4 separate regions of the Homo sapiens genome follow, and regions 2, 3 and 4 are each linked to region 1. Evidence: promoter capture Hi-C in human tissues and cell types (Jung and others, 2019). All regions are on one chromosome and are shown on one strand. The core of a region is centred on a gene start or on the middle of the fragment in contact, and the rest is flanking DNA. Distances in the headings are between cores, read along the strand shown. Region 1 holds the start of FAT4 (FAT atypical cadherin 4). Region 2 overlaps FAT4 (FAT atypical cadherin 4). Region 3 overlaps FAT4 (FAT atypical cadherin 4). Region 4 overlaps FAT4 (FAT atypical cadherin 4).

Region 1 (7,470 bases), core at 3,239-5,738:
CAGGTTCTGACTCAGAAAGGGTGACTTCATAAGAGAGTTGGTCAAACACTGGTGAATTGTCATTTACATCATGGACATAAACTGTTAAGATGACACTAGAGGAGAGCTGTGGGACACCCATGTCAGATGCCAAGATCTCTATTTGGTAGGAGCCAGCATGAACATCCAGGGGCCCAAGCAGACTAATAGTGCCATTCTTTTCATTGATAGCAAACAGGTTCTTGGGGTTTTGCTTCAGACTATAGAGTACCATGCCATTGACACCTTCATCAGGGTCCACAGCTTTGGCCTGGAAAATGCTGTGACCTGCCTGCCAATTCTCCACCACATTTACACTCTCTATTGCCTGAAGGAAATGGGGAGAGTTGTCATTCAAATCCTTAACTGTTATGTTAACCATAGTGTCTCCAGTCACTGTGCCCCCACTGGCCACTACCTTCAGCTGATAAAAGGATTGCTCTTCTCTATCAATCACATTTGCTGTGGTAAGCTGCCCAGTGACCTGGTTGATAGCAAACATACCTTTCTGATCCCCAGTAGTAATGAGATAACTGATGTTGGAATTGAGATCCATGGTGGATGCAGACACACTACCCACATGATATCCCAGCGCCACGTTCTCAAAAACCACAAAGCTGTAGGCAACCTGACTGAATACAGGTGGGTTGTCTTGAGTGTCCAATACAGTGATGGTTACTATTGCCTGGTTGGGAGATTGTAAATTGCCACCATCAGTAGCTACTATTTGCAACTGATAAGCTGTTTTTTCTTCTCTGTCTAGGGCCATTCTTGTAGAAATAACCCCACTCTGAGCATTGACCTGAAACCGAGACCTGTCCCCAGCAGATATGCTATATTTGACAGTACCATTGGTACCCAAGTCTGGGTCAGTGGCAGACACAGTGGTGATGTAGCTACCTCCAGGCTCATTCTCCTTAATGTGAGCAAAGTATTGGACCGGGTAGAAGACAGGGCTGTTATCATTTATATCCAGAAGACTCACATTTATGCGAGCCATTGATGACTGGGGAGGGGAGCCCAGATCTGTGGCCAGAACCAACAGGGAGTAGAAGGCTTGCTCTTCTCTGTCCAAGGAGGAAATAGTACTCAACCTCCCAGACACAGGATCCAGACGGAAGGACCTCCGGTCAGTCTCTGCCTCTTGTAAGGAGAAGCGCACTGTTCCGTTGTCACCCAGGTCCCCGTCAGTTGCCCTGAGCATCAACAGTTCTGTCCCTGTTGGGGCATTCTCAACCACAGACACATCATACCCTTCTGGCTGGCTAAATACTGGCTTTTCATCATTCACATCTAGGAGAGTTACTACAAGCTGGGCATAGGACACCTTGGGGTGAACTCCCTGGTCCCGGGCACTTATATTCAGAACAATCTGGGAAGCAAGTTCACGGTCCAGGCCCCCAGAGGACCCAGTGGTCACGAGGCCGCTATGTTCACTGATATGGAACCATCCCAGTCCATTGCCAGAGACAATGCTGTAACGCAGATTAGCATTGAGACCAGAGTCGCCATCAGTGGCAGATATCCCACTCACATAGCTTCCCGGAGGCGCCTCCTCGCTCAGGTTCACTCTGTACACTTGCTGTGAAAAGACAGGAGGATGGTCATTGATGTCATTAACAAAAATCACCAGGCTTGCCACAGAAGAGCGCGCCTGGACTGCTGCGCCAGGGGGCGCCCCGTAGTTATCAGAGACGGAAACTGTGAGGTTGTAGGAAGGGATGCGCTCGCGGTCCAAGGCGCTGGCCACCTTGATTAGGCTCAGGTTCGGCACTTTGCTGCTTTGCACTTCAAAGTGGCGCTGCTCATTGCCCCCGAGAATTTGCACGGAGATGTTCCCGTTGGCCGCGGGAGAATCTGCGTCCGTCACGGTGAGCAGAGCCACCACGGTGCCCACTTGAGCATTCTCATCTACCGAGGCGTAGCGCGAGGTGGCCGGGAAGTAGCGGAACTTCACTACCGGGTCATTGTCATTCACGTCCAGCAGCTGAATCAGCGCCTCGGCGCGCCCAGTGAGGGAAGGCACGCCTCTGTCCATCGCCTGCACCGTAAGCGAGTATTGGCGCCGAGCTTCGAAGTCCAGGGGCTCCCGCACCGTGATAAGTCCCGTCTCAGGGTCCATTTGGAAGGGGGTCCCCTCGTCCTGCAGGCGATAGCGGATGTCCGCGTTGGTGCCCTCGTCCGCGTCCGCCGCCGCCACCTGGAGGACGCTGGAACCCACAACCGCGTCCTCAGGCACCCCCGCCTGGTAGTGAGAACTGCCAAAAACCGGGGGGTTGTCATTAATGTCTTGCACAGTCACGTTTACCTGAAGGTAGCCCCGCCGCTTAGGCTCACCCTTGTCCTCCACCTCAACCAGGAGCTGGTACTGCGGAGTGACCTCACGGTCCAGTCCGCCCTTGGACACCAGATGCAGGAACGCTCCCTCGCCGCTCGGGTTCAGGGTGATGTCCAGACGGAAGCGCCCCGCCTCATTGCCGCGGATGATGCGGTAGGAGCGGTGGTCCACACCGTTTGAGCCGATGTCCGAGTCGGTGGCGGTGTCTAAGATGACTTGGCGTCCGCTGCTACTGTCTTCCTTGAAAGTGACCACGATAGAGGGGTCCGGGAAAACGGGGGCGTTGTCATTGAGGTCCCGCACCAGCACTCGCACTTCGGTGGGGTAGGTGGGCGCGCTGGAAAGGACCACCAGGTTGATCACGTCGCTGGGCAGGCTCTCGCGGTCGATGGTGGAGGTGGTGTACAGGGCTCCGGTGCTACTGTTTATGGCAAACAGGGCGTGGCTTTCGCTGAGCCTGTAGGTGAAGCCGGGGCGCGTCTGGATGGTGCCTACCAGAGTGCCTGGAGGTTGCTCTTCCAGCACTTGGAACACCTGGCGCGGCTCGGCCCCGTGGACCCAGGCCTGCCCCGGAAGCAATGACAGTAGCCAAAACACTCGAAGGAGCTGAGATACTGATAGAGTGTGCAACGGGAGCCACGGGCGGCCAGTAGCCCTGTCTGGTGCTAAGTCCATGGTCCTGGCTCCCTAAAACGATGTGATAAAGAGAAGGAAGGGGTGAAGCAAACGCAATGATATTTACAGGGATTAAGGAGCGCCAGCAAAGATTCAGCTGACGGCTTGGTCTGAGACCTCTGCTATTTCAAAGAACCTCCAGTCCGGCAAAAGCAAGTAGCATCAGCAAAAGACTCTAGGTAGCCAGTTGAACGCGGAGTGCAAGAGAGATGCTGTGGCGAAAAGCGGCAGGGCATTCCGCGGGACACTCCTGTGAGCTGAGTTCCCAGAAAAGTTTCTCAAGCCTCTTATATATGCCCCCTTTTACTTTGTTTTTGAATCCAGATAGTCTGAGCGTTTTCACCCGGGTGGATGAGAGTTGGGAGAAGTTGCCTGTATCTAAGGTATATGAGGAATCATTGCAAAGAACGGTCTTCAGAAACTTTAGAACTTACCCGCAGCGAAGAACGTGAAGAGGGAGGAACAAACGTCCAAGCACAACTGCGCACCGGGGAAGGGGTGGTGGGGAACCGGGAGAATCGAATTTCTTTCCCAAAAGCTGGAGGCGATGGAATTCCTGGAGTCCCCACTCCTCAAAAACCAGGCTGCAACGCCCCTCCAACAGGGCGCCGGCAGTGGCCGCTGAGGCCCAGGCGGCGGCGTCTGCGCGCAGGCAGTTCGGGAACTGCGTTCCAAGCGCTAGCGTTCGCGCTCTGGCTCCCGTACCCGGGAGCGCTCAACTCTGCCCCTTCCCCTCCTGCAGCCGCCGCCGCCGCCGCCCCTGTTGCGGCTTCAAGCCCGTGGTCCGGCACAAACAACAGCCAGGGCTCCTCGGCATTTTTCACCTCTGCCGGGGCGCCTGCCGACCCATTATTTGTACATCCAAATCGAACGCAGTTTCCCCTTTCTTCTCGGCCTCGCAGGGGTCGGGCAGAAACAGCGTGCGGTCCCCGAGTCGCCCTCCCCTCACCATGCCAGGGGGGGTCGTTCTCCGGCGGCCCCAGTCAGAAGCCCACTCTAGCGCGCCTCGCCCCTGCCCTCGCTATCTCTGCTTTTATTGTCCCGTGTCAGTTTCACTTTGTAATCCACAAGGCTTTTTGTTTGGGGCGGGGGGTGGTTGATGCCTCTCTCTCCTTCACAGTTGGCAGCGGAGGCGGCGAAGTCGGCGCTGGGCTGTAGTGACGCCCTCCGCAGCTCCGGACGGCGCCTGTCAGCGCTCTCCCTCTCGCCGGCCGGGGCCGAAGGTTGGACTGCGGTGGAGCTAGGGCTCCGCGAGCCCTTCTCCACCTCCCGCCTGGTCCCTCACACTCTCCCCGCCCCTTCCCCGCCGCACAGGCATGCACACACACACACATACACACGCACACACACACACACAGCGCGTCGCCGAAACACAAACAGAGGGGGAGGGAAGACCGCGAGCTGGAGCAGCACTCAGAAACTTTGCTCGACACTCATTGATCCCCGCACTTTAGTTCGCCTGGACTCCCCCTAGCTCCCAGTCCTGTCACCTTCTGCCCCTCCCTCGCCCCAGCCCCATTGGGCCGGAGCTGAAGCAGCCCCGACCGGCACTCCTACCGCGAGCGCCCTCCGCCTTGCCCGGCCTCCGACTGGCTTCTCGGGATGCTAATCACTTCAGCCTCCCGGAGGGCTGTAGGCGGTCTGGTGTGGGAGCACAGCGAGGCGGAGGCGCTAAAAAGGGGGGTGATTTTTTTTCTTTTCTTTTTTTTTTTTTTTTTTCCTTTTCGGCCAAATCTTGGCCGGCGTCAGAGCAATAACAGCAAAAGGCTGCCGCAGAATAGATGGGGGTGGGGTCAGGTTTGCAGATAAATAACTTTAGTGGCAGGGTCTGGGGGAAGACCGTTAGGTTGTTATGCTAGTAATAACTCAGGGGTAAGGGGGTCGAGAGAAATAAAAGAAAGGCGGGGGGTGAGGGTCTGTTAAAGCGGGGAGGAAGGATTAAGCAAAGCCTGTCTGGGAATGCACAGTGCAGATTTGCTTTAACCATTTCCTGCCCCTTCTCTCTTTATGCAAGGGATAGAGCTGCCATACAGTGTGATCCCACAGAATCCAAATCAAATCCTCCCCTTTGCTCCTCTTTCTACACAGTGGGCTCCCTGCTGTCTAGGGCGAGCTAAACTCTAAATCTTCACTCACTTGCCCCTCTCCCCCACCTTCCAGGTGACTAGGGGGCAGGAGGCCTCCGTAGCAAGGGCACTTTGGACTTCCTACTATAGGAAAGGCCAGGGGAACTCAGTGTTTGTTTTGTTTTCTTTCCCAACTGGATTCCAGGTGCCAGTAGCCCAAACCTTAGGGTTTCAACAACAATAATAATGGCAGCCCTTTGAAAAGAGGGAGATCTTTTCCTGTTGCAAAGTTAGTTTGGAATTTTGATCCCTGATGGAGTATTTCCACCTCCACATTTTTTAGTCAAAGGAAACCTAATAAAGTTTTATTTTGCTTTTCAGTCTGGGAGAAATAGATACGAGAAAGTAGAAATAAATAAAATAATATTTAAGCTTAAGTTTTTAAAAATACCCACATGCCACTTAATGCACTCAGATCAACTCACCCACTATTCACTGCAGTTAATTTTTGTGGTGGCATGCATCGTTTCTTTAAAAGAAGAAAAACGTTACTAGGAATCAGATCGATATTTTTCCCCTTTAAGGGAACCAACCTAGAAAATAAGAATTCAAGCCAAACAATGCAAATACAGGGCATATGTCATACATTTCTGCCACAAGGATCCCTCACAAACGTAAAACTTTCTGCGCCCAGAGAGGGTTCAGTCATGAGTAAATACTGCCCTCTGCTGTTCTACGTCAGTCTTACATCTTTAGTCTCCTGGTTTCTTGCTTAAAATTAAATGCAGAGACTAAAAGGATCGGATTACAAGGCTAATTCCTGCTTCTTGCCTAGGGATAGCAGCAAAGAAAACGATCTCTAAGACTTTCCTAGTGCCTTTCTTATTTAGAGTAAAAAAAAAAAAATCAAGAATAGTAGGACAGACAGCAAATTCAAGTCTTGATGATGCAGGCAGCCTGTAACTCAAAACTGATTTATGGAAACATGATTTCTAAAGCTATCACCAATTCCTCTGTTTAGGTTAAAAAGCTAACTTCTACATATTCCTCTACTGTAATGTAATGAGTTAACTGGAAACAGACAAAAAAGTTAAATTTAACCATTTATGTATTTTAAAACTTGAAAACATTAGACTCTAGACTTTTTAGAGACATTTAAGCCTGTTTTTCAAAAATCGTATTTTTCTTAAGTTACAATCCTAACACCATTATTTTTGGTATAATTTAGCCAAAAAATATTTGTAGATTAACTAAAGTGGCAAACAAATTTTTACAAATTTTTACAAATCATGTCTGTGTGATTTTAAGAGAATATTACTGTTTTGTTTTATTTTGTTTCCTAATGCACTATTATTCAAGTATTTATAGAGAAATAAACAGAAAGAAATCATTCAGATACTTGTTGTAGGAGATCATGGACTTTTGTTGGTTTGCTTGTTTTTTTTTGCCTGTGGGATAATCTTCAGATTTAGTGTCAATAGTATTACATTTGCATTATATATGAGTGAATTTAATTTGGGAAACAGGTGAAGATCATTCATTCTGTGAAATGGAAAGTATTCAATCAGTGCAATATGTATACATTTTAGTTTTACAAAACAAGATATGGCAAAATAAACTAATACAGAAAATATATAGAGAGATAGAGTACATAAAAATTTTTTGGACAATTTCAAAAGAGGATTATCGAAAATTATTTAGCCAATAGTGTGGTTATTTTAACAAGTAGAAACTTTTCGCATGATGACTACTTTAAAGTAACATATTCATTTATAGATAAAACCTATACATGAATTTACAATCTATGTATAGATAGGTACACAATTTAAGGTAAGATATAGAGCATGGTTTTAATAAAAGACAAAGGTATTTTGTTGTTACTTTTCTCTTTTGCATTTCAACCTGTAATATCATGCATGTTAAAAAATGGATGCCCTCCCAAAAAGTAAATCATGCATGATAAATAATATGGATCCCTCTCCAAAAGTAAATGAAAGAAAGTAAAGACATATAGAGATCATTGTATGCATGAAATATGCAAAAAAGCCATGGAATACATTACTAGGTAGATATTATAATGGAACACATTAATAAACAGTTAGTGTAAGAATCATTTCTCATTGTACATTTTCTTTAATTAATTGCCTTTCAAAAAAAAAAAGTTAAGTTTATCTGTGCTTTTCTACCAAAGGCTTGTGTGAGAAGTGTTGTTTAGTCAAAGCTTTTAATAAAGTTCTGAAGAGGAAGATATTCCCCGATGTTAATAGACTGTGGGGGACATATTTTTATGTCCAAATATGAAAGAAACCAGAGAATACCTCATTTGAACCTTAGAACATACGTTAAAACAAATAGCTCTGTAACAATTTGTTA
Region 2 (7,470 bases), core at 3,386-5,885, 170 kb before region 1:
TGGAGCTGGAATGCCATCCGCTGGATTCCTTGTTCTAGACAGTGGCCTTCTGCAGTCCTCCTCTGAAGAAGACCTCCCATGGTCTGCACTGCAGATACTTGGGTTTCTAGGGCGAGGTGTGTTGAGCCTCTCCACTTCTTCAATAGAAAGTCCGACTGGAGGAGAAGATTCCAGTGGAATCTGCCCAATCGGCTGCTTTAGGCGACTCCCTGGTCTAGAACCATGTGATGCCATGGCCTGAGGACTCTTGCTTCTCCTTCCCAGCCTTGTGGCATAGTTGAAAATGCCAGGTTGGCAGGTGTCACCATGCATTTCCAAAGTATTACCATCCCTTATAGGAAGATGCAATTCCCTTGCTGGGCTGTTTCTATAGAACGTAGAAGATTTGGAGAAAGGGGCTGGACTGTGTCGAGACAGAGGGTTGGGAGTTGGGCATGCTGAGTGGCTTAGGGAGCTGGTTCTCAAACCTTGACCATATGAAGGCTGGTAAGTCAAACTGCTTGCTCCTAAGGGCATGGGGGATTGCCTTGCAAAGCCTAGGGGACTGTGCCTCTGGATTGAAAATTTTGGTGTGTGGCTGCGGAACTGCTTGTAGTGTTGAATGATGTCTGCATCCGAAGGGGCGATGCTGCTGGCGTTGTCAATGTCATAGTGCTCTATCTCCTGCTCTGGAGATGCCAAAGGGGCGCTGGGGATGGTTTCTGAGTTGTGAGGAATATCAGTTTCATCATAGATAAGGTAGGGGTTTTCCCTTTCAATGATATCTGGTTTTGGGTTCCCTTCAGGCTGCTTCCTCACAGTCATGTCATCCCCATAGGGAGGGATATTGTCAGGGTCATCAAAAGCAACGTTCTCACTTCCCTTTTTCTTCTTCTCCTTCGGTTTCTTCTCCTCTTTGGGATTTTTGGCCTTCTTCCCCCTGCACTGGTTACACAGGATCAGGCTAAGGACCAGGAGGGCCAAGACGGTTGCGCAGCTGCCCACGATGGCAGGCACAGCCCACAAAGGCAGAGAGATCTCTTCAGGGCCCTGACTCAGAACACAGACATGCCCCGCAGGACTTCCAGCTTTGCACACCTTCCCCTGAGGACAGAGGACGCCAAGACAGGCCACCACCATCTCACAGGTCCTTCCCGTGTGCGAGTCTGGGCAGCTACAGGTGAAGCCGGAGTGCAGGCCTGGCTCACAGCTGCCACCATTCTGGCACGGGTGGGAGGCACAGTCCCCAGGAGGGACACACCTGTAGGCATACCACTGATTAATGCACAGCAAATCACCCCAGCAGGGGTTGCTGGCACAAATGTTCGGGCCACGGCAGCCAATCTTCACTGAGGGATCTGTTTTTGAGATGGAGGCCAAGCTATGCTTCCCGCTGAAAGGAAGACTTTCTCCACCATACCACATAGAAGCAATGCAGCCATCAAAACCTGCTGGGAGAAGAAGAAGGAGTAAGGCTTTTTACAAAAAAAAAAAAAAAAAAAAAGAGCTTATACTACACTGCTGGGTTCTTGTAAAGAGAAGCTCCACAATCACCTCATATGAATACATGAATACAGAAACCTCAGTCTCAGAACCATCATCCAGCTGAAAGATAATTAAGCTGTGCATCTTATAACTTAGCAAGGTGCGTTAAGATTACCATGACCAAACATGGGTCAGATTGCTTGAATCCCACTCATTCTGAAGATTTATGAATGACTTGGGCAGGCTGAATTTTCTTTTTCTTACTCATTTATTTATCAATTTCCTTCCTTTTTACATCCCATATACCAAAAATTGCATACATACAAATAAAATATATATTTTTTAAATTTGTAAAGAACATGAAATAGGCCAATGGCTTCAACTACTAAATCATGCATTCCCATTGAAGGTGATAATACACCAAAGGTGTGGAACATAGGTTCTTGGGGAGCAAAACAAAAAAATCTTAGCTATTACAATGGTTTGTGGGCCTCTAAAAGGCAGATAAAAACATACCTCTGGTGTTAACATTTTATGACTTGGGGATGGCAAAGTTTAGACTATATTAAGTGTCTCCTTAGGGGAATGATAAAGATAAAATGCAAAGTTAAGAAACACTTCATTACACTTGAGTGTGTTAACAGTGCTGATATTCCTATCTCAGGGCCCAACAATCTATTTTGACACTACAAAAAGCGTAATTTCCATTGGTTTGTTTTCTCACAACATTCTATAATAACCATATAAAAAGGACTTATGACCTGGACTTTAACTTTTATGCCTTAAATCTATTAGTCTCACATGCATTTTTTTCCTCTTATTTAATGCATCATTCTACCATAGTGACATTCTCATTCTTGATATATTTTTTCCATGAGCTTTTGTGACATCTTTTCTTTTTGTTCCTATACTCCTGATTTTCTTCCTATTACTTAGTCTTCTTTTCCGACTTATTCTCCTCTACATAACCATTAACTCTTACGGTTAATCAAGATGACGTCCCAGGCTTTCTTTTCACTCTACGCCCTCATGTTAGGTGATCACATCCATGTCCAGTACTTCAGTTACCTGCTTGACACTGACCACTCTTAAATATATATTTCCAGCTAAAGTCTATTTCTGATTTCCAGCCCATCCATCCAAAGGATTTTCTCAAAGATGCTTCAAATCCAAAATGTCCCAAACCAAATCTAATATTTCTCAGACATATGCTGCTTTTGGAGGGTTCTGCAGTTTCCTCTCTTGCTGACCTACCCTTCTTTGAGTTGAGAAGTAGAAACCTCCTTGAATTTTACCATAATCACTAACAGTTTGGTTGATTTTAGTTCCCAGAATATTTCTTGCCTATCCATTTCTTTCTAACTCCTCAGCCACCACACTAGTAGGAGCTCAGAAGACATCTTGCCCAGATCCCAACTCATTTCTGTAGATCCACTCGTGTCCTCCTCCAATTCATTCTCCATGCTGTAGCCTGAATGATCTGTAATATTACTGCATATCTAACTTGATCCTACTGTGATTAAAGTTTTCAATTACTTCCCATTGCTCTGTAAATAAGACCAAAACTGCAACATGGTCAGGAAGTTGCTTCATTCTCCAACTTCATCATTTGCCTATGATGTTAGCCTCCAATGTGTTGTCTTCTATAACTTTGGCTTAAACGATTTCTTTAAAAAAATTCCTATCAACATAAATTAACCTTTCGTACACTTTCATCCTCCTCATCATTCAGATTTATGTATACATGTCAATTCCACAGCAAAATTCCCCTTCCTTTCTCTTTTTTCACTATATTTTAGAATTCTACATTCTTCATTTGTATTATTTATCACACATTAGAATAATGCAGTTACTTGTGTAAGAATTTGATTAATGTTTGTCTCCATTAATGGTCTATGAAGAGAGTGGCTGTGAATGAATAAATAAATGAACAAATGTATATGAAATGCTTGGTGGACAAGCAAAGCATCAAAACACTATGGACTGAATTACAACCTTGGTAAGAAAGATGCAAGCTCTCGAGAAAGTGGTGGCTAATAGTTTATTACAAACTTTCTGAAGATAGTTATGACATTCTTAGGATATTTATAATTGATATTATCAGACATCAAACTACTTTTTTAAACATAAATTTTATTGAATGAAATTGTTCTGTATATGAGATTCATGTTAAATGTGTAGTCTTGCCACAAGAAAAAGCAATTACTTTTTGAAGAACAATTTTACTTCCCTTGTGACTCTACTTAATAAAGGCATTTACCTGTTTGGGCATCTCGATGTGCTTGATTGGGTGGAATTCCTCCAAGTGATATAGTAAGCACATCAAGGCCACCGAAGTCCTGAGTAGGGTGGATAATATCTCTGTTATATATTCTGTCAACAGACAATACTGTTGCTGTTCCATTTTTCCCAATTAGAAAAGTGTGCCAGTGGCCGTCTGCAACATATACTTCAGGAATATTTCTCTCCACTTTCCCAGCAATTCCTGCATCGGATGTAAAATATACTTTGCCATTCTTAATCTGTAAAACATATTAAAAATAGTATGCAATTAAAATATGGTATGCTTAAATAAAAATCATTAACAAAACTAAACTTAAATTTTTGACCAGTCCACAGCAGATAGAATAGCTGAAGAATCTGGTTGTATTAGAATATACTTACACACTTTGTCTCTAATTTTAGGCAACATGTACTTTTACATTTAAGTTTCAATGGTTTTCAACGTATTCTTATATGTATACCTAATTTCTCAAAACTTGATGAATTATTTTCCAGAACACAATTGAAATAATAAAGGGGCGAATGTCCATTTAAGATAATTAAATTATACCTTTTTAAATTATTTGTATTCCAATGACAACCTGCCATTGGAGTGTGTTATGCTGGTTCGTTTAGTAAAAGGCCCATAGTACTAAAAAATTGTGAAAACCACTTGCAAAAAGAAAAAGAATGCTCAGCTAAAAGGGAAGCATAGTTTAAAAATAAAGATGAAAATAATTGTTTTACCTCTCATCTTTTACACACAAATTTTAGGAAAAAATGATGCCTATTGTTTATATCATTTATTGAGATCAAAAACTATGATGAACAAAGAGTGAATTCTTAATGAGGTGTCTGGGCAAGCCTTCACTTTGGCTGTCTTTTACAATTTATCTAAAGGATATTTGGTTTATTTTATTTTGTCCAGGAGAACATTGGGTAACAGGGTGCTCCCACTCCAGTTTCCAGCTACCGAGTTTCCAGTATCCTGAGTAGACCATTTTAGAAAATGAGATAATTTATGAGGCAAGATGAACATTTGGTTCAGGGAGCATAATCCTGTTACCACTGCCAGACAGAGCTGGTGTGTTGGCAGGGGGATGCAGTGGCACTGTTCCTCAAATAACGGGAATGAAAAGATGGATCAGTTTATTTTGTCACTCAGATCAAATGCTATTTCTACATGTAACAAACACATCTGGTAAAACTAAAAATCAGTTCATTTGTACTTTACCGAAAAGATGTCTAACACATTTACATATGTTATTCATATAGCAATATTTTATTAAAGCCAATTTTTCCAGATAATAATATATTTCAGTACCAAACTAAAAAAAAAAAACAGAAAATTCTAGCTAAATGACAATAACATTTCATCAAATGGGCAACATCTCATGACACACAGTAAAAACAGCAACTTTCTTTGGTTATAGCTGGAGTCCTTTTTGAAAAAAAAAAAAAGGAAAAGCCTTCTCCCAGCTCTTTCCTCCTAATTGATTTCATCATGTCATCCTTTTATTCAATAAATTTTTGATGAAAGAGCACTTGGAATATACCACAAATTGGGGTGGATAAGAATATAAGTTCCCATTATAACATTCTTAATGTTTTCCTTCTCCCTGGCAGTACTGTACTTAACACTTATATAATTCTTCACTTTTAAAACATCATGCTAATTTTTGCTTGGTTTTATTTATTAATAAACAGTCAATGATGAACCATAGGAGCTGAAAAATTATTATTGCCTAGTGACCTAGTAGCCATTGTAATGTCATAGCACAACGAATTACTCATTGCGGGGATACAGGTGTAAGCAAGCCTACTGAGCTGCCAGTTGTATAAAAGTATATCACATGCAATTTGATAATAAATGACTATATTAGTGGTTTATGCATTTACTACACCGTTTTTTTAATCATTATTTTAGAGGGTACTGCTTCTAATGATATAAAAAATAGCTGTAAACCAGCCTCATCCAGGTCCTTTAGGTGGGATTCCAGAAGAAGGCATTGTTATCATAGGAGATGACAGTTCCATCTGTGTTATTGTCCCTGAAGACCTTCCACTGGGACAAGATGTGGAGGTGGAAGACAGGGATTTGATGATACTGACCCTGTGTAGGCTGAGGCTAATGTGTTTTTTTGTTTCTTAGTTACTAATGCAAAAGTTTAAAAGTAAAAATAAAATGAAATAAAAAACTTTTAAAATAGAAAAAAAGCTTATGGAATAAGGGTATAAGGAAAGAAAATATTTTTGTACAGCTGTACAATGTATTTGTGTTTTAATTGTTATTACAAAAGAGAAAAAAGTTAAAAATTTTAAGTTTATAAACTAAAAGAGTTACAGTAAGCTAAAGTTAATTTATTATTGAAGAAAAATATTTTTGATAAATTTAATGTAACCTAAGCATACAGTGTTTATAAAGTCTGCAGAAGTGTATAATAATGTCTTAGGCCTTCACATTGACCCACCACTTGCTTAATGACTCTCTGACTCAGAGCAACTTTCAGTCCTACAAGCTTCAGTCACAGTAAGTGCAATTTAGGCAACATGTGAAACCTCATCCCTACAAAAAAATACAAAAGTTAGCCCGGCATGGTTACGCACACCTGTAGTCCCATCTACTTGGGAGGCTGAGGTGGGAGGATACATTGAGCCCAGGAGGCAGAGGCTGCAGTGAGCCGAGATCATGCCACTGCACTCCAGCCTGGGCAACAGAGCAAGACCCTGTTGCCCAGGCTGTCCCCCATCCCCCCAAAAATCTTCAATGCAGCCTTTTTACTGTACCTTTTTTATTTTTGGATATGATTATATACACAAATACTTTCCACTGTGTCACAATTGCCTACAGTATTTAGTACAGTAAACATGCCATACAGGTTTATAGCACAGGAGCAATAGACTATTCCATATAGCCTAGGTGTATAGTAGGTTGTACCATCTAGGTTTGAGCAAGTTCACTCTATGATGTTTGCACAAGAATGAAATCACCTAACAATGCATTTATCGAAATGCATTCCTGTCATTATGCAACTCATGACTGCATTTATTTGTTCATTTATTTAATTTGAATCTATAGAGCTTTGAATTCCTTATTCCAATTATTCTGTATCACCTATGTTGCCCACTTAAAAAAACCAGACAAACACAAAAGAACTGATTTAGAGTAGAAATAAAGTCCATCACATTACTATTATTACAGAACATCAAATATGGAGCTATAGGGCATGCCATGAATGAAGAGAGATTTGTGAAATGAGTTAAATATTGGCCTACAAAGTTTTACACAATTATGCTTTCCTTTTGCCTTTCTCTCTGAAACTTTCTTTTCTTAATTTTTTCTTTTTCTGAATAGACCCAATTGATTCTACATATTCTTCTCTCTCCTCTCATCACTATTGCTGCCCACACCTGACACTGACACCCTCTCTCTCTTCTAGCCACATGGAATCCCATTTACCCAACACCCTTCCTCATTTTTCACAAAATGTCCTCATCTTCTGTCTGCGTGTGTGTGTGTGTGTGTGTGTGTGTGTGTGTGTGTATGTGTGTCTGTAGAGAGAGAGAGAAAGAATGATAGAAAAGAGAATGAGAGAGAGAGAATGCAAACCATAAGAAAGAGTTAAAGAAAGGATCAGAAAAGGAGCCAAAAAAAAAAAAAAAAAAAACGGAACCCTGGGGTCTTGGTGACCAATAAGCTAATTGATAAGTAAAAGTCCATCCTAACTAGCTTCCTAGTCTGTA
Region 3 (7,470 bases), core at 3,059-5,558, 150 kb before region 1:
CTCAAAACTTAAATCCTTAAAATTTGCAAAGGGATCCCTAAAAATATGAACATCTCTGTTCAGTCACTTGAAAATCATTTCTAGTTTACACTCTAATCCCCTTATCTTTTATCTCAAAATGTTAAGTTAAACCATGAAATTTGACTGTGGTTATCTGTAGAAAGCAGCACCACTTAAAATGATGAGACACCATTGAAAGAAAGAAAAAGTTTTTGGACATCTCAAGTTGTGGTTATTTTGACCTTGATATACCTTTCATTACTTCACAGGCATTGTTAGAATTTCAAAGAAATTGTATAAAAAGGGGTTCTGTGAATGTCATACTGGACTGAAAATAAAAAATTGTGTTCTAGTTGCTACATCGTCTTGGGGTAGTTTTGCCTCAACTTCATTTTTTGACTTTGGGCAAATCAGCCAATTTCTGGGCCTCAAAACCATTGGTAAAATACATTCCTCAAAATTAGATATTTTTCTATTTTGTTTGTCTTTATCATTCTATGGATGTGCTTAATAAAAACAGATAGTCATGAAGTTGTTTGGAAATTAAAAATACCTAGTAAATTATACAGGTTATTAGGAACTGCGTATGTCTTTTAAATTCTATTATCTACTATAGATTGAGCTTTACTGTTCAGGTCCATATAGCACAGTTATATGCCCAAAGGAAGACTAGAAAAATATCCTTGCTCTTTCTTGCTTAAGAAAAGAGACATAGATGAAGCTGGAAACCATCATTCTCAGCAAACTATCGCAAGGACAAAAAACCAAACACCGCATGTTCTCACTCATAGGTGGGAATTGAACAATGAGAACACTTGGACACAGGAAGGGGATCTTCACACACCGTGACCTGTCATGGGGTGGGGAAGGGGGGAGGGATAGCATTAGGAGAAATACCTAATGTAAATGACGAGTTGATGGGTGCAGCAAACCAACATGGCACATGTATACATATGTAACAAACCTGCACGTTGTGCACATTACCCTAGAACTTAAAGTATAATAAAAAAATAAATAAATAGATATACAAAGGGGACAAAAAAAAAAAGAAAAGAGACAGAGTCATTTGGAGATGGATTCTATGCTGTGGTGTAAAGCAGCCTTTAAAAAGAATGGAATAATCACAAACTTATGAAACAAGCCAAGCTAATACAAATGCTTCCTCTGAATCTCATGGTTTTTGGCTGGCACAGTAATGGGTAACAGCTGGATAAGACCTGGAAGGAATCTTTTAGTTCATTCCACTAGGGTGAATAAATATGTATGTATACAAAAAAGTTCTTTTTAACAATTTTTCTTATCCAAAAGACAGATTAGTCTGAAATTTTATTAGTCAGGTAGTATCAGCTACAAAAAGCCTATTATGAAAACGTCAGGTATAGTTACTAAGTCCTTCTAATAAAAGTGGCTGAATTAACATAAAAAACAAAATTAAAAACTAATGTAAAAAACAAAAATAAAAAATAAAGCAAAATTCACAAAAGTGAAACAAACAAAAAACCTTACTTTGACTACTCTTAAAGATTTGAAATAGAGAGTGACGTGAAAGAGTGCTTACAGAATTTTTTTATTTCATAACTTCTCAGCTGAAAAGAAGATATCCATAAATCTTTGGGGGGAAATATCCTATGGAAACAATATTAATTCAATTATCTTGAGTTGACTCTTTTTCTAGTAATGACCAATGCAATGTATTCAATGGGATTTCCATAACTTTTACAAATGTTAAACATTTAAGATTTTATTTTAATAAAACCTTCCATGTAAAACAATAATTTTTTGGTCTTTCATACTCATAATAAAACAAAATTGCTAAACTGTGTGCAAAAATAAACTTATATTTTATATCAACAAATAAGTTTTACTCACCAAATGGACAATGACAATAATAAGAATCCACACCACTTTGGCAGGAACCACCATTAAAGCAGGGGTTGCATTCACAGTAATTGACTGAAGATTCACACATTTTCCCTAAAATATATCAAATTCAGTTTTTTTTAAATCTCATACATAAATATATTAACACCGTTACACCATTACCATACGTAAAAATCTTTCCTAAGGCATATCACGGAGAAAAGAAATATAAAAACGTTTTACTTGACATAAGGAAATTAGAATAATATCTTAGAATTTAAAATCTTGTTTAGTTGTCCTATTGTAAAATGTGCATTATAATACTTAGGAAATAATTTACATAATCATCTTGGAAGAAAATACTGTTTGCAGAGAAATGACATGATAAACATATTTAAATGCTTTCACTGAATTTATTTTCTGTGTCAATGTCCCTTCATCTTTTATATTTTATAGATAGAAAGTTGAAACTTACAGTATTCTTTTCACTGCAGAGATTTTCTTGACTTAGGTATTTCAAAGATAATAACTTATCTTATTTATCAAACTACACTCTTTCTACTACTAAGAAATATCACTTGAATTACACATATCTGTTGTAAAGCAGAATAAGAAATAAGAAAACACATCATATTTTCAAATGCTTATGAAAATTTATTCTTGACTACAGATTATGTATACTTTGTCTTTTGTCTGAAGCGATAATACCTAAACAGCATATTTTTCAGTTTATAAAGACTTTTCTCATACATGATCTTGTTAAATTGAATCAACTAATATTGAGTGAGTGCTTATTATGGGCCAGACATGATAATGGAGGGGGATATGGCAGTGAAGAAAGCAAACAAGTGTCTTCAGACTGTGTTTCCATTTCAGTAGGGAGTATTAATCCATACAAAGGAAATATTTACATTTCAAAAGTGAAGAATAAAAGCCTCTTGGAGGCTAATATATTGTCTGTGAAACTGTAAAACTATGACACAGACCAATTTAGGGCTTCTGCTCCCATATCCAGGTTTCACAAAACTATGGTAGTTGATCACGTGGTGTATAAAACTTGGAGTATAAGTCCCACTTGTTTTTGTTGTTGTTACTTATTTTTACCTAAACTTAAACATGTTCTAATACCACTGTTCTATAACTTTAAAGTATTGCAATCATTTGATACATTCGTTAGGATCTAATTTTCAAATTTCATAATGCAGTGAGATGTTACAGAATTCTTAGTTAATTTCTTTTCATTGAGAGTAGGATTGTAAATACTACATCATTTGTTTCTGGAAGTTACTTTCTACTTCCCAGCCCAATTTCACTAATGCATTTATTAGATAGCTCAGGAAATGATATGCATTCTATATGCACAACGAGACCTACTGCTGAGCATAGATACTTCATTTCATCATACTAACTTTGCTTAAAACACAGTCAAAATTTTGTTTAAATTGGTTCTGTTTTTGTGGCTTGATTACGGAGCCACACTTATTCTGGTCTGAAATTATAAGTGTGAGTCAGATCTCATGATGCTAACTAAGCCCATTTCTGTACATCACAGAATCATAAACACAACATTTTTTCCCTTATAAATAAATTGGGAACCTCCTTATAAGGCAAAACATTGAGCTAACAATTTCAGAATACCTTTGTATTGTTAAGGCAAGGGCATGAAAATAAACAAGTTACAAATTTATGGGCACAGAAATCAGGTTTTAAGTATTGTAGCAGTGTACTACATTGGAGAAATAGGCAGGAAAACTTCAAATAGTGCTTGATTTCTCACCAGAGAGTTGCGGTTTCACAGAACTCTTTCCTGTTTTGTTTTTCAACTGATTATGTGAAGGCCATTTTAGTGATGTAGATTTTTTTTTCTTACAGCACAGTATTTCCCAGTTGCAAATACATAAGGTCTACTGGCCATATTTTTGATTAGTTGTCATCAATAAAGTAATATTCTACTCTTTCCATTTGGTTTTCACTGTAAAAGCACACATAATTTTCACTTGTGCTTTTTGACTAGGTACAGTTTTACTTTCTTTCATTCCTTTCTTTATCCAAAAAATTATTTTAGAGTTGTGTTAAAAGTAACATGTATAAAATACATAGACTTATATATGTATTTATAAGTGTGTTCAATATAGCCTTGTTATCATGAAAACATGTTAGTGGGTTACAAAATTGCCACCTTCACTTCTTAACGACTGGAAATGAGGAACAAATAAGAAGTAACAAATGTAGAGGGTACTGCTATGTATACTTACTCAAATAATTGGACATATGTGCTCTCTGACAAAAATATATGAGTATAAATCCCAAGTCATTGTTCCTATAAAGCTACTATATGTTTTTTGAATTTCATTTACAAATACTACCTTTATAAATCTTGAGTTAAATAGCAACAAATGAAATTTACGTGTTGTTCTTTTTGTGTATAATTATATGAATCAATTCTTATTTAACCCTGTATAAAATATTTTAACATAGACATCTGAGTTTAATTTAAATATAAAATACAGGCTATTGCAGTTACTCCAGAGTGAGGAGTGGAAATATATCCTAACACAAATAAGACTTATTCATTTATTAAAACATACAGTGATTACAAAGTGGCAGAAGATGTTACAAACCAATAAAATACTAATTTTGAGAACGAATTTCCTATAAAACTTAAATTCTCAATAGAATCTGATTCTTCAAGTATACACAAATAGAAATAGAAATTGTTAAGAAAAAACAAATTCAACCTTGCATTCAGTATTTCAGTTTAAAAATAAGGTTGTTCCTTTTTACTTTGTCTTAGTGGATAATTACAAATAATTAATAATGGCTATTCCTCAAGAGCTAAAAGCAGAACTACTGTTTGACCCAACAATCCCATTACTGGGTATATACCCAGAGGAATATAAATCATTTTACCATACAGACACATACAAATGAATGTGCAATGCAGCACTATTCACAATAGCAAAGACATGGAATTAACCTAAATGCTGATAAATGACAGATTGGATAAAGAAAATGTGGTACATACACATCATGGAATACTATGCAGTCATAAAAAAGAACAAGATTATGTCTTTTGTGGGAACATGGATGGAGCTGGAGGCTATTATCCTCAGCAAACTAACATAGGAACAGAAAACCAAATACCACCTGTTCTCACTTATAAGTGGGAGCTAAATGATGAGAACACATGGACACAGAGAAGGAAACAACAGACACTGGGGTCTACTGGAGGGTGGAGGGTGGGAGGAGGGAGGGGAGCAGGAAAGATCACTATTTGGTATTGGGCTTAATTCCTAGTTGATGAAATAATCTGTATAACGAACCCTGTGACATGAGTTTACCTATGTACCAAACCTTCACATGTACCCAGAACCTAAAATATAAGTTAAAAAAATAGATAAAATGGCTTTGTTTGGGGTTAAATAAAGGAATTTGTTGTTGAGTTTGGAAAAAATAGTCTTATCTGTTGGTGGTAGAGTATGTAAATTATTTACTATTTAAAAATTGAGTTCTCCATTTAAAGAGTAAAAATTTTTTACAATTCATGAACTCAGAGGTTGCCATAGCAGATACTTGAATTCAAAGACATAGTAGGAAAACAGATTTAAATTTAAATTATTATTTAAAACACCTGTGTCTTTTGTGTGAGAAAAGGATTCCATAATTTTACTTAGAATCAAAAGAAAGCTTCTAAATGCATATTTCTCAGGTTTGGAAAGTTTATGCTTTTTTACCCAATTAGAAATTAACAAAATTCTGAATTGTTTTGTGCAAGTCTATCTACTTAAATTGTAGTGTTAATAGCATAATGAGTATCAGAGAATGCAGTAGTTTGAATTACTCTAACATGCTCTTGGTACAATAATCTGATGTGTTGAAGCACTGTGAAACAAAATCTTGGATCATTAACTTAATTAATGCTACAAGTCAATTAACAATACTTGCCAAACGCCTTCAGGCTTGGAAGTATGCTGATAGGACTTGCACAAAGACAGGCATTTATTCCTCTTGAACTCAAGAGGCCTCCTTCCATTAAGATATGTTTACTGCCATAGCAGCTGTTTAGAAGAATAAATTGATCTCATTGCTTTGACATCCATCAATTAATTGTGTTGCCATACACTATTTATCATAACTAGAAGGAGATGTGCTTGAAGAAGTGTAAATTCTTAGCACATGGAAAGTGGGAATAGCTTAAGGTGAAAATAAATGCATAATAGGAATCCATGGTATCCGCAGACTTTCCTAAACTTACAGGAGAAATTTTGTGTCTATTTTCATGTTTGGGGGCAGAAGATGTGATGACGTGTTGAACATAAACTGAATCTATTGTAATCACCTATGGTCTTTTCAACAAGAATGTATATTCAAGTTTCACTTGTCCAAGCACATTTTAATGTTGGATTATGTGAAATAGAGCTAAATTTATTCTCAACTGCTAAATTGGACCACTCCATGAAGATACGATAATTTTTGATACCCTATGATACATGTAGCCTTCAATTTAAGATCTTAGATTATATATACATATTAGACTACCATAAATATTATTTTTAAATCTCCTGTATTTCTACACAGAGGAGATGGGAGAATATGTGCAACTCTAAAAATCCATTTTAGGTCTAAATTGATTATGTTATTAATAAAGAAATTCTATAATAAATATATGCTATTCATTCTAGGCATTTATCTTATATATTTTCCAAATTATTTTAGCAAAAAGTAGCTGTCTTTTGCACAGTATGCAAATGTTTCCCATTATTGTTAAGGAGCTATGAAGATAGTCTAAGTATCCTGTTCAATAGCCTTATGGCTTTTTTGCATTGAAACAAAAGCAAAAATACCATGTTTTAATAAGGGCTGCCAGTAACAAAAGCAACAACCAAAAAAAGTTTTTACCTTTGTCTTGTAAAACAAGCACAAACACAACCTCAATGAGACTACAAATGATTACATATGATTACACACATAATGTTCATAAGCTTATAAATATATGCTTATTTTCTACAGAAATAAGCATTTAAGCTACTTCTTAGAAACATACGTTATTAATGCTTTTATAAGTTAATGTATTACCTAATGTAAACTGCCTAATTCTGCTTTCAGGAATCAAATTAAATAAAAATAATTGCACTCTTTATTGTCTCTTACATGAGCCACTCTTCTTTATCTCAAACAAAATTTAATTTCATATATATTTACTAAATTTCTTTTATATTATATGGTTTTCCGGTCACATGATCATCAACAACACCAATACATGACCGTAGTAATTTTAAAAGAATCACTCTTAGTAACTCTTTCCATCTTTATGAAAGCAAATATCTGGCAAGTTTCTCAGTAAAATTACTATGCATATTCTGTATATAAGTTGGTATGTCTGAAAAAATTTTACTGTTTATACTGTCAAATGACATAAAAGTGATGAATGAACAAACCTCATCTTTCCTGAAATATCGGGACTTAATTGAGAACATAGGAAAACTTCTCCATAAGGTAATAAACCCCCGGCATTATTCCAAATACTACACCTGAAATGCATCCAGATGTGTGAAAGTGAATGGAAAAGGTTAAAGAGACTATGAACTAATTATGTTATAAGATAGCCAG
Region 4 (7,470 bases), core at 2,957-5,456, 130 kb before region 1:
AAAGGCCAGTGGTTATAAGTCCAATGAGGAAAAGATGCTTAAGCATACCTCATTTTACATAGGAAATTTTATCTTGCACCACCACACATTGGATGTAATTAGAACCATGCCTGCCAACATCATTTCATCTGAAGACCTTTAGCAGGTATTTATCATTTTGATACTGACATTTCCTTTGATAGAAAGTTGGCACATAAATTTATGAATCCTATATTTTAGATTGGTATCATTCTCAGATTAATAGAAGATCAAAGATCACTGAAAGGAGGATCTGTTAACTCTATCTGTTAAGTTTTTCTTCTAATAATTAAAAATATTTCCGAGCAAGGAAGATTAAATCAATAATGAGCTATATTTCTATATTTTCCTCTTTGAAAACTCATTTTAAAAATTAAAATGGCAGATTTGTGCAGTTCTTAGAGTATGCCTTTCTTAGCAAATGTCAAACTAAATTTAAAGAGATACAGAAGGATAAATGCATATTGTCAATATGAAAATGATTCATAAATGGATCCATAAACTTGCTAACAGAACAGTTTTCATTTGTAAAACCTGGAATAAAATAAATATTAACAAGAATTATCCATTTATTAAACTTTTTGAAAACATATCTATGAAAAATTGAAGTCAAATATTCATTTTCCACTGACAAACATAGTTGAATGCCTATTATCTCCCATATCATGTTTCAGGTAGTGGCATATGGCATGCAAAATAGAGACAATGCCCCTCCTCTTAGCAAACTTACACAAAGTTATACCTCAGGCCATAAACATCATTAACGATGATGTAATATATATGTTAATTATTTATAATATTCAAGTAATATTAAGAAATAATAATACATAACAATTATAAAACATTATACACAATTAGTCTAGCAAGAAAGGGTTAATTTTCAAGTTTCAAGCATTTTTTCATTTCCATCAGACAAAACAACCTGAATTTTAGAGGATTTGCAAAATTAGGCTATATCAGAAATATGTATGTAAAATATCATAAATATTTTTATAGAAATGTCTGATACATAGTTTGTTTATATCCATGTGGCCTCAGAATTTGGTTGATTACCTGGAAGAGTAGGAGATGGGATGTGAGTGACATATGGGTGATGCTGAAATCTTGGTGGATTGTCATTGACATCAGTCACAGTGACAAGCACACTGGTGGAACTGGAAAGAGGCTCTGGGGATCCCGCATCACTGCAGACCACTACCAAAGTATAATTATCTTTTGTTTCCCTATCTAACAATGCGCTGGTGATGATTTGTCCTGTCGATGGGTTGATCGTGAACTGAGAGTTTCCACCGATGATCCTATAACTAAAGCAGAAAGCAGAAATAGGGATATGTCATATAGTTTTAATATCGTAACTTCTATTTACTATAATTAAAAAACTGAGGTAGAAATGCAAGAAAACGTTACAAGAAAGATCATACAACAATGTTGGAAAGAATACAACTAGTCTAGCTAATAAATATTTCAAATTTTCTGTGAACATCACATTGACAGTCTTTATCGTGAGATGTCCAGTGATGTCAAGGAAGTCTTCACAAGGTTTTTAGGACTCTTAAGTTGTGCAAGGCCACCAAACAAACCCCTAAGGCTTTAAATAAATGAGCCTAAAAGCATAAATCAGGGGACTTGCTCTAATATTGTGGTTAGTAGCCAGGATTACAAATGAATATCTTTTAAATGAAACTAAAAATTATTTTTCTGCTGTATACCATAATAAACCAGAGAAGATCAGTTGAAAATTGTATTCTTTTAAGACAAAACCTGTATTTGACATGTATCTGCTTCTCAGAACAACTCAAGGACTGATTATTTATACAAAGACCTTTCTAGTGATTAATTCTGTCTTTGTCATTCCTCATATGGTTTTGTTGCTTTCTTGTCAGGAGAGGTATGACATCTTCATGGATGTTTTGATGCTAACCAGATAGGTTAACGGGCAAGAGTTTCCACTGAGAAAAGCTTCTCTCTTCTTTCTGAAGAGTACAGTTGTCTGCATATATTCCTGATTTTGTGTATAAGGTGAGGTCCCAAAGATCAGCCAGGAAAGAAGTAGCTAAGCTTGAAGGTTCAGAAATTGGCTATGGTCCGTAATTTTTAAAGTTGAAAGATAGCATGGAAATAGATATCTTTAAAAGTTTTCTTCTTTTATACCAACAAATAGATACCCTTGTTGGAGTTGGCTGCATGTTTCTACAGTTTGCTTTGTGTCTATATAAACATAGCAACAGCATATATCTAATATAAACTGCAGGGGAAAAAACTATATTGCAGCCAGTAGTATGTTCATTCTCCTATTATGCTCACAGCTTAAAACAAATATTTCAGCATTTTTTATCCTACTTTAGTGAAATAATCAACTGTTGAGGACCTTATATTTAAAACTATTAGAAGTCTTATAAAATGATAGCAAAACAGGGAAAGAATAGAGAAGTGGTTTGGTTGAGAAATGGCTTCAGTATTGATAAAATACTTTGTGTCACTCAGATTTTTAATATGCTTGGCAAATCACACGACAGAATCAGGCATGTGTGAAAATAGCATTAACTATAGTTATTGGGCCAGAAGTGACTATTAGGTATAATTATTGCCCTTTACAGTAGATAATATATATTCTCTTTATCAAAATATAAATATCAAGTTTTATACATGAATTCTTAAAACTTGAAAATTCAGGACTCACAAAATAATCAAAATACCTTAACGTTTTACAAAGTGTAGAAAACTGGATTTGAGAATTGTGTAATTTTATTTTTGGAACCTTGTTGCTGTCAGTGGATGTAGAAATAATCAAATAATTTAATAGGAAAATAAAGTAAGCCATGCTGCCATAAACTTTTTTAGTTTTATAATGGCAAGGATCAAGGTTCAATCAAATATTTATTCCTATAAATATTCACAAATAAAAATAAAATGAGATTGATAAAAAACATAAATTTTCATCTGGATGTTTTGTATATGCCAAGACCATGGTGTATTATTAAGCGTAATGTGTTGATAGGCAAATGGTGTGGCCTTTAGTCCAGTTTCACTAAATGATCCATTCAAAAAGACTTGCTATCATTTAAATGTTCCTTGAAATTAGTCATTGTAACAGTGTTGTAACAATGTTGAGAAGTAGGGCCTTTAAGAGGTGAATTAGACCATCAGGGTTCCATCATTATGAGTGGATTAATGCCATTATCACGGAAGTGGGAGTTAGTTATTGAGGGAGTGAGCTTCTGATAAAAGAATGAGTTCAGCCTGATTCCCTCTCTCTGTCTCACATGATTGCTCACCATGTGATGCCTTCTGCCCTTCTGCCATGAAATAACACACAGGAAGCACTCACCAAAAGCAGGCCCCATGCCCTTAGACTTCCCAGCCTCCAGAACTGTGAGCCAAATACACTTCTATTCTTTATAAATTACCCAGTCTGTAGCTATAGCAGCACAAAACAGACAAAGAAACCTATGGTATAAATTCTGATTTTTTAATTTTATGCTATTGCACATGCTATTGCCCGTATGACTGTCTATTTTAAAGTAGGTAATATATTTAGTATTTTTTAAAATGAATGAGCAAATAGTCATTAATATCTAATTAATTTTTTCTAGACTTCACTAGATTCTAAAGCATATAAAAGTATATTTTAAATATGAGATGTTCTATAACACCAGTTGGATGAAAATTTATACTTCTAATTTTAAAAATAGAAGAAACACAATAAGCTCTGTACGTAGATCGACAGTTAAGATAATATGTCTAGATTTTTGCCACATCTCTTACTTGAGGCTTGGTTCTATTCTCATCCCTCCTGATGACCTCTCTTGCTTCTCTGGCCTGCATTAATTTTTGTAAAGTTAAAAACTTTATTAGATTGTGTCTTGTGGTATCTTCTTAACAGTTAAACATTTATGCTGTTACTTAAATATTTCCAGGAGCTTATTGATTTCTTAGTGCATGTCAAGCACACTACTGGGCAATTTATATATGCTCTTATTTAAATCCCAAAACTATCCTTATAGTTTAGTTTTAGTTTTGACTGTTTAGGGATAATGAATCTGAATCTAACAGAGACTAAAGTAGTTGCACAAAGAAACATACAATCTATAAATAGCAGATCTAGAGTTTGAATTTCTGTCTTTATGACTTCACCATGCACTTTTCCCATTATTCCACAGTAGAAGGAAGGTAAAACTCAACTGAGGGAATGTAGTGAAGACGGAAAATGTACCAATTGCGAAGGCCAACATGGACTCTTGCTCAAGTTGTGTCAATATAGAATTTGTTCACATTTAGTTCAATGAAAATCAATAAACACGTTAAATTATTTTCTAATTTGAGAATACATTACTATTTCAAATTATTTGCATAAACAGAGACCACTGTGATCTGAACCCTAAATCAACTATTGCTTTTGTAAAGTTAAAATATCCCCATTTGATTTTGTAAAACTTCTTTGCCTCTTCCTGAGATCTACTAGGGTTATAGGCATTATACTGTCTGCTGGGAGAATATGATCATTTAGTTAAGAGACTGGACTTTAGAACATAGTTCACTTGGACATAAATTTAAACCCCATGAATAGCACTTAAATTCACAAAAATTTCTTAACATTTTTAAGCCTTCTTTCTTTATCTGTAAAGTGGAGGTCATATTTTACTTTTTATTTGGTAGTTTTGACTATTAAAAATATTTTGTATAAAGAGCACTTGGCATTGTAATTGATAAATGGTGAGCCTTTAAAAGTCTAAGTTTACCAACATAATAGGACCTATATAATATATATGTATAACGTAATAGTCTATTACATACAATCTATCCATATCTATCTATACATAGGTTGAGTATCCATTATCCAAAATTCTTGGAACCAGGGGTGTTTGGATTTCTCTGGATAGAATATTTGCATATACATAATGAGAGATCTAGGGGATGGGTCTCAAGTCTGAACACAAAATTCATTTATGTTTCATATACCTCATATACATAGCCAGAAGATAATTTTATCTAATATTTTTGATAATTGCTTGAAACAAGGTTTGTGAACATTGAAACATCAGAAAGCAAAGGTATCAGGTGTGGAATTTTCCACCTGTGGCATCATGTTCATGCTCAAAAAGTTTAGGATTTTGGTGCATTTTAGATTTTGGACTTTCAGATTAGGGATGCTCAACCTATATTTAGATAGTTAAATGGATAAAGGGACTAAAAATTCAAAACAGAGACACGGTTAAGTAGGTTAAAAAAAATCCTGGTTTCAAGTTTATGTCCTTTATGACAGAAAGATATAAAAAAAAGGTAATTACAAAACAGTAAAGTGCTATGAAACAGTAAAGAGGTGTCACTGTAGGTATTCAGAAGACAGAACACTCTTGACTGGAATGATTAAAATAAAGCTTCCTCAGAGAAAGGTAAATTTAACATAAGTTGTAAAGGGGCTACCCATCTTTCAATAGTGTTCAAAAAGGCAGAAACAAAAGAAGGTCTAGGCTAGTGGTCAGCAAACCTTTTATATAATGGGCCAGATTGTAAAGATATTCAGTTTTACAGGTCATATATTCTCTGTTGCAATACTCAGCTTACCATCATATGGCAAGAGCAGCCAAAGACAATAGGTACATGAATGGGCATGGCTGTGTTCCAATAACACTTTATTTACAAAAACAGGCACTAGGCCCAATTTGGCCTGCAGGTAGTAGTTTGCCAAGCCCTGGTCAAAGATATAGAATAAATTGAGCAAACCTATAAGGCTTGGGAAAGCACAGATCCTTGTCCCATGAGCAGAAAATGATCCAGTAATACTGAACTTTTGGCCATATGTTGCAGAGTTTTGCAGAATTAGCTGGGGCCATTTATGGGGTGACTAGAATTTGAAGACTGGGGGTTATACCATAGGCAAACTGGAATTGAAAGATTTTGAGGAAGGAAGTATAATTGTTAAAGCAGAGCCAAGAGATGCTCATGTTGATGCATACTTCTGCCATTGCCCTTTAATTCACTGACTCCAGCTTTGCTTTGTACAAATTATTTCCTATAATGCTGGGAAAGAAATAATTATGAAATATAACTAGGCATGTTTTTGTGCTTGCTGCTTAAAACATTTCCATTGTTTCTCTCCTTAGATGCAGAAAGAAATTTTGAATTTTTTATATGGTATACAAAGTCCATTCCTAACCCACACCAACCATATGGAAATACTTTCTTTCTCTAATGCCATGTTTTTTGCATAGCTCTTTGCCTTAGTACCTGATACTGTCTTTGCCTAGAATATCTTTCATTCCTTTATTTCTCCATAAACTACTTCTACTTAGTATCATTGAAGGATCATTGGCCATACTATTCTTTCCACCTATTCTGTGCTTAAACTATACTTGTTATACGGTACTACACTTAAGAAATTACAAAATTATCTCTTCTATTAAATTGCACTTCTTATGGGCCCTAGAGTTCCAAACTCCTGAGAGTTTAATAAATTTTTGGTGCATAGTCAGGGCTTCATAATTTTACAGGACAGTGTACTACATAGATTGGAAGGATTAGAAACTAGAGGCGTGGAAGTGAGTTAATTCTTATTATAATAGTACAGGCATGATGTAATTATGAACTGAACTAGGATCTTGGCAGAAGGGATGCACTGAAAAGAATGGGTGCCAGATGCATTAGAAAAGAAGAAACATGAGAATTTGTCCACTGATTGAGTATAAGAGAGGGGATGACCCTTAGCTGCAAGGTGTGGTAAAAAACAAACCAAGACAATATTATTAAAACAAAGCAGAAAACCAAAATGAGAAACAGGAAAAGCAAAGAATTTTAGGTACACTGTGTTTATGATGCCAACAGAACCTCCAGTGTAATATGTCTATCAGCGAGTTATAAATATGGGTGCAAAATTTTGGAGTGGAATCAGAGTTGATAGTACAGATTTGGAGGTTTTGTTCACAGAATTGATGCTTGCAGCAATGGAATAAATTCTCTCTCTCTCTCTCTCTCTCTCTCTCTCTCTCACACACACACACACACACACACACACACAAGTACTGAGAAAATAATGCAGTGAGAAGTATTCAAATTACTTTCCAGAGAGAGAAAAGAGAAACAGAAAACAAACTGTGTGTGATCAGAGATGCAGGATGATAAGAAATAATATTTATATAGACATTGAGCAGGAAAAAATGCCAAAAAGAAAAGATGGCCTGGCCTGTAGTGTGAACATTGCAAAAAGTAAAGGAGAATAAGGACTTAGAAAAGTCACTGGACTTGAAAAATTTCAGTAGTCTTCTGACAGGGCCTTTTTTTAGTAAAGCAATGAAGGAAAAAAAAAATCAGACTAAAGATTTTCAGGAATAAATGGTCAGAGAAAACAGGTTGTGAAGCTTTCAAGAATGTTGTAGTAAAAATAGAATGAGTAAAAGCAGCCATTCCAGAGAATATTAAAATCGTTCATTCAATGCATTTATTTAAGTGACAACC

What was found. Contacts are between HindIII fragments. The study calls those that stand out against the background at their distance.
Region 2: a contact is called between a fragment that was not itself captured here and the fragment with the promoter of FAT4 in region 1, in 3 of the 25 tissues and cell types used here (H1 embryonic stem cells, heart left ventricle and mesenchymal stem cells).
Region 3: a contact is called between a fragment that was not itself captured here and the fragment with the promoter of FAT4 in region 1, in 1 of the 25 tissues and cell types used here (H1 embryonic stem cells).
Region 4: a fragment that was not itself captured here is called in contact with the fragment with the promoter of FAT4 in region 1 in 1 of the 25 tissues and cell types used here (heart right ventricle).

The regions. Positions count from the first base shown.
Region 1 is chr4:125,311,973-125,319,442 of GRCh38, reverse strand. FAT4 (FAT atypical cadherin 4) reads right to left here and starts at 4,488. Exons shown (of 18, transcript NM_001291303.3): 1 at 3,466-4,488; 2 at 1-3,043. The coding sequence starts at 3,031. The HindIII fragment of the contact is 10,793 bases long and covers 1-6,424 here.
Region 2 is chr4:125,483,861-125,491,330 of GRCh38, reverse strand. FAT4 (FAT atypical cadherin 4) reads right to left here. Exons shown (of 18, transcript NM_001291303.3): 17 at 3,725-3,986; 18 at 1-1,430. Among named protein-coding and RNA genes, the nearest start is that of MIR2054, 20 kb to the left of the region's middle. The HindIII fragment of the contact is 4,587 bases long and covers 2,342-6,928 here.
Region 3 is chr4:125,458,067-125,465,536 of GRCh38, reverse strand. FAT4 (FAT atypical cadherin 4) reads right to left here. Exons shown (of 18, transcript NM_001291303.3): 11 at 1,870-1,974. Among named protein-coding and RNA genes, the nearest start is that of MIR2054, 45 kb to the left of the region's middle. The HindIII fragment of the contact is 6,113 bases long and covers 1,252-7,364 here.
Region 4 is chr4:125,440,145-125,447,614 of GRCh38, reverse strand. It overlaps FAT4 (FAT atypical cadherin 4), which reads right to left. Exons shown (of 18, transcript NM_001291303.3): 9 at 1,072-1,322. Among named protein-coding and RNA genes, the nearest start is that of MIR2054, 63 kb to the left of the region's middle. The HindIII fragment of the contact is 4,358 bases long and covers 2,028-6,385 here.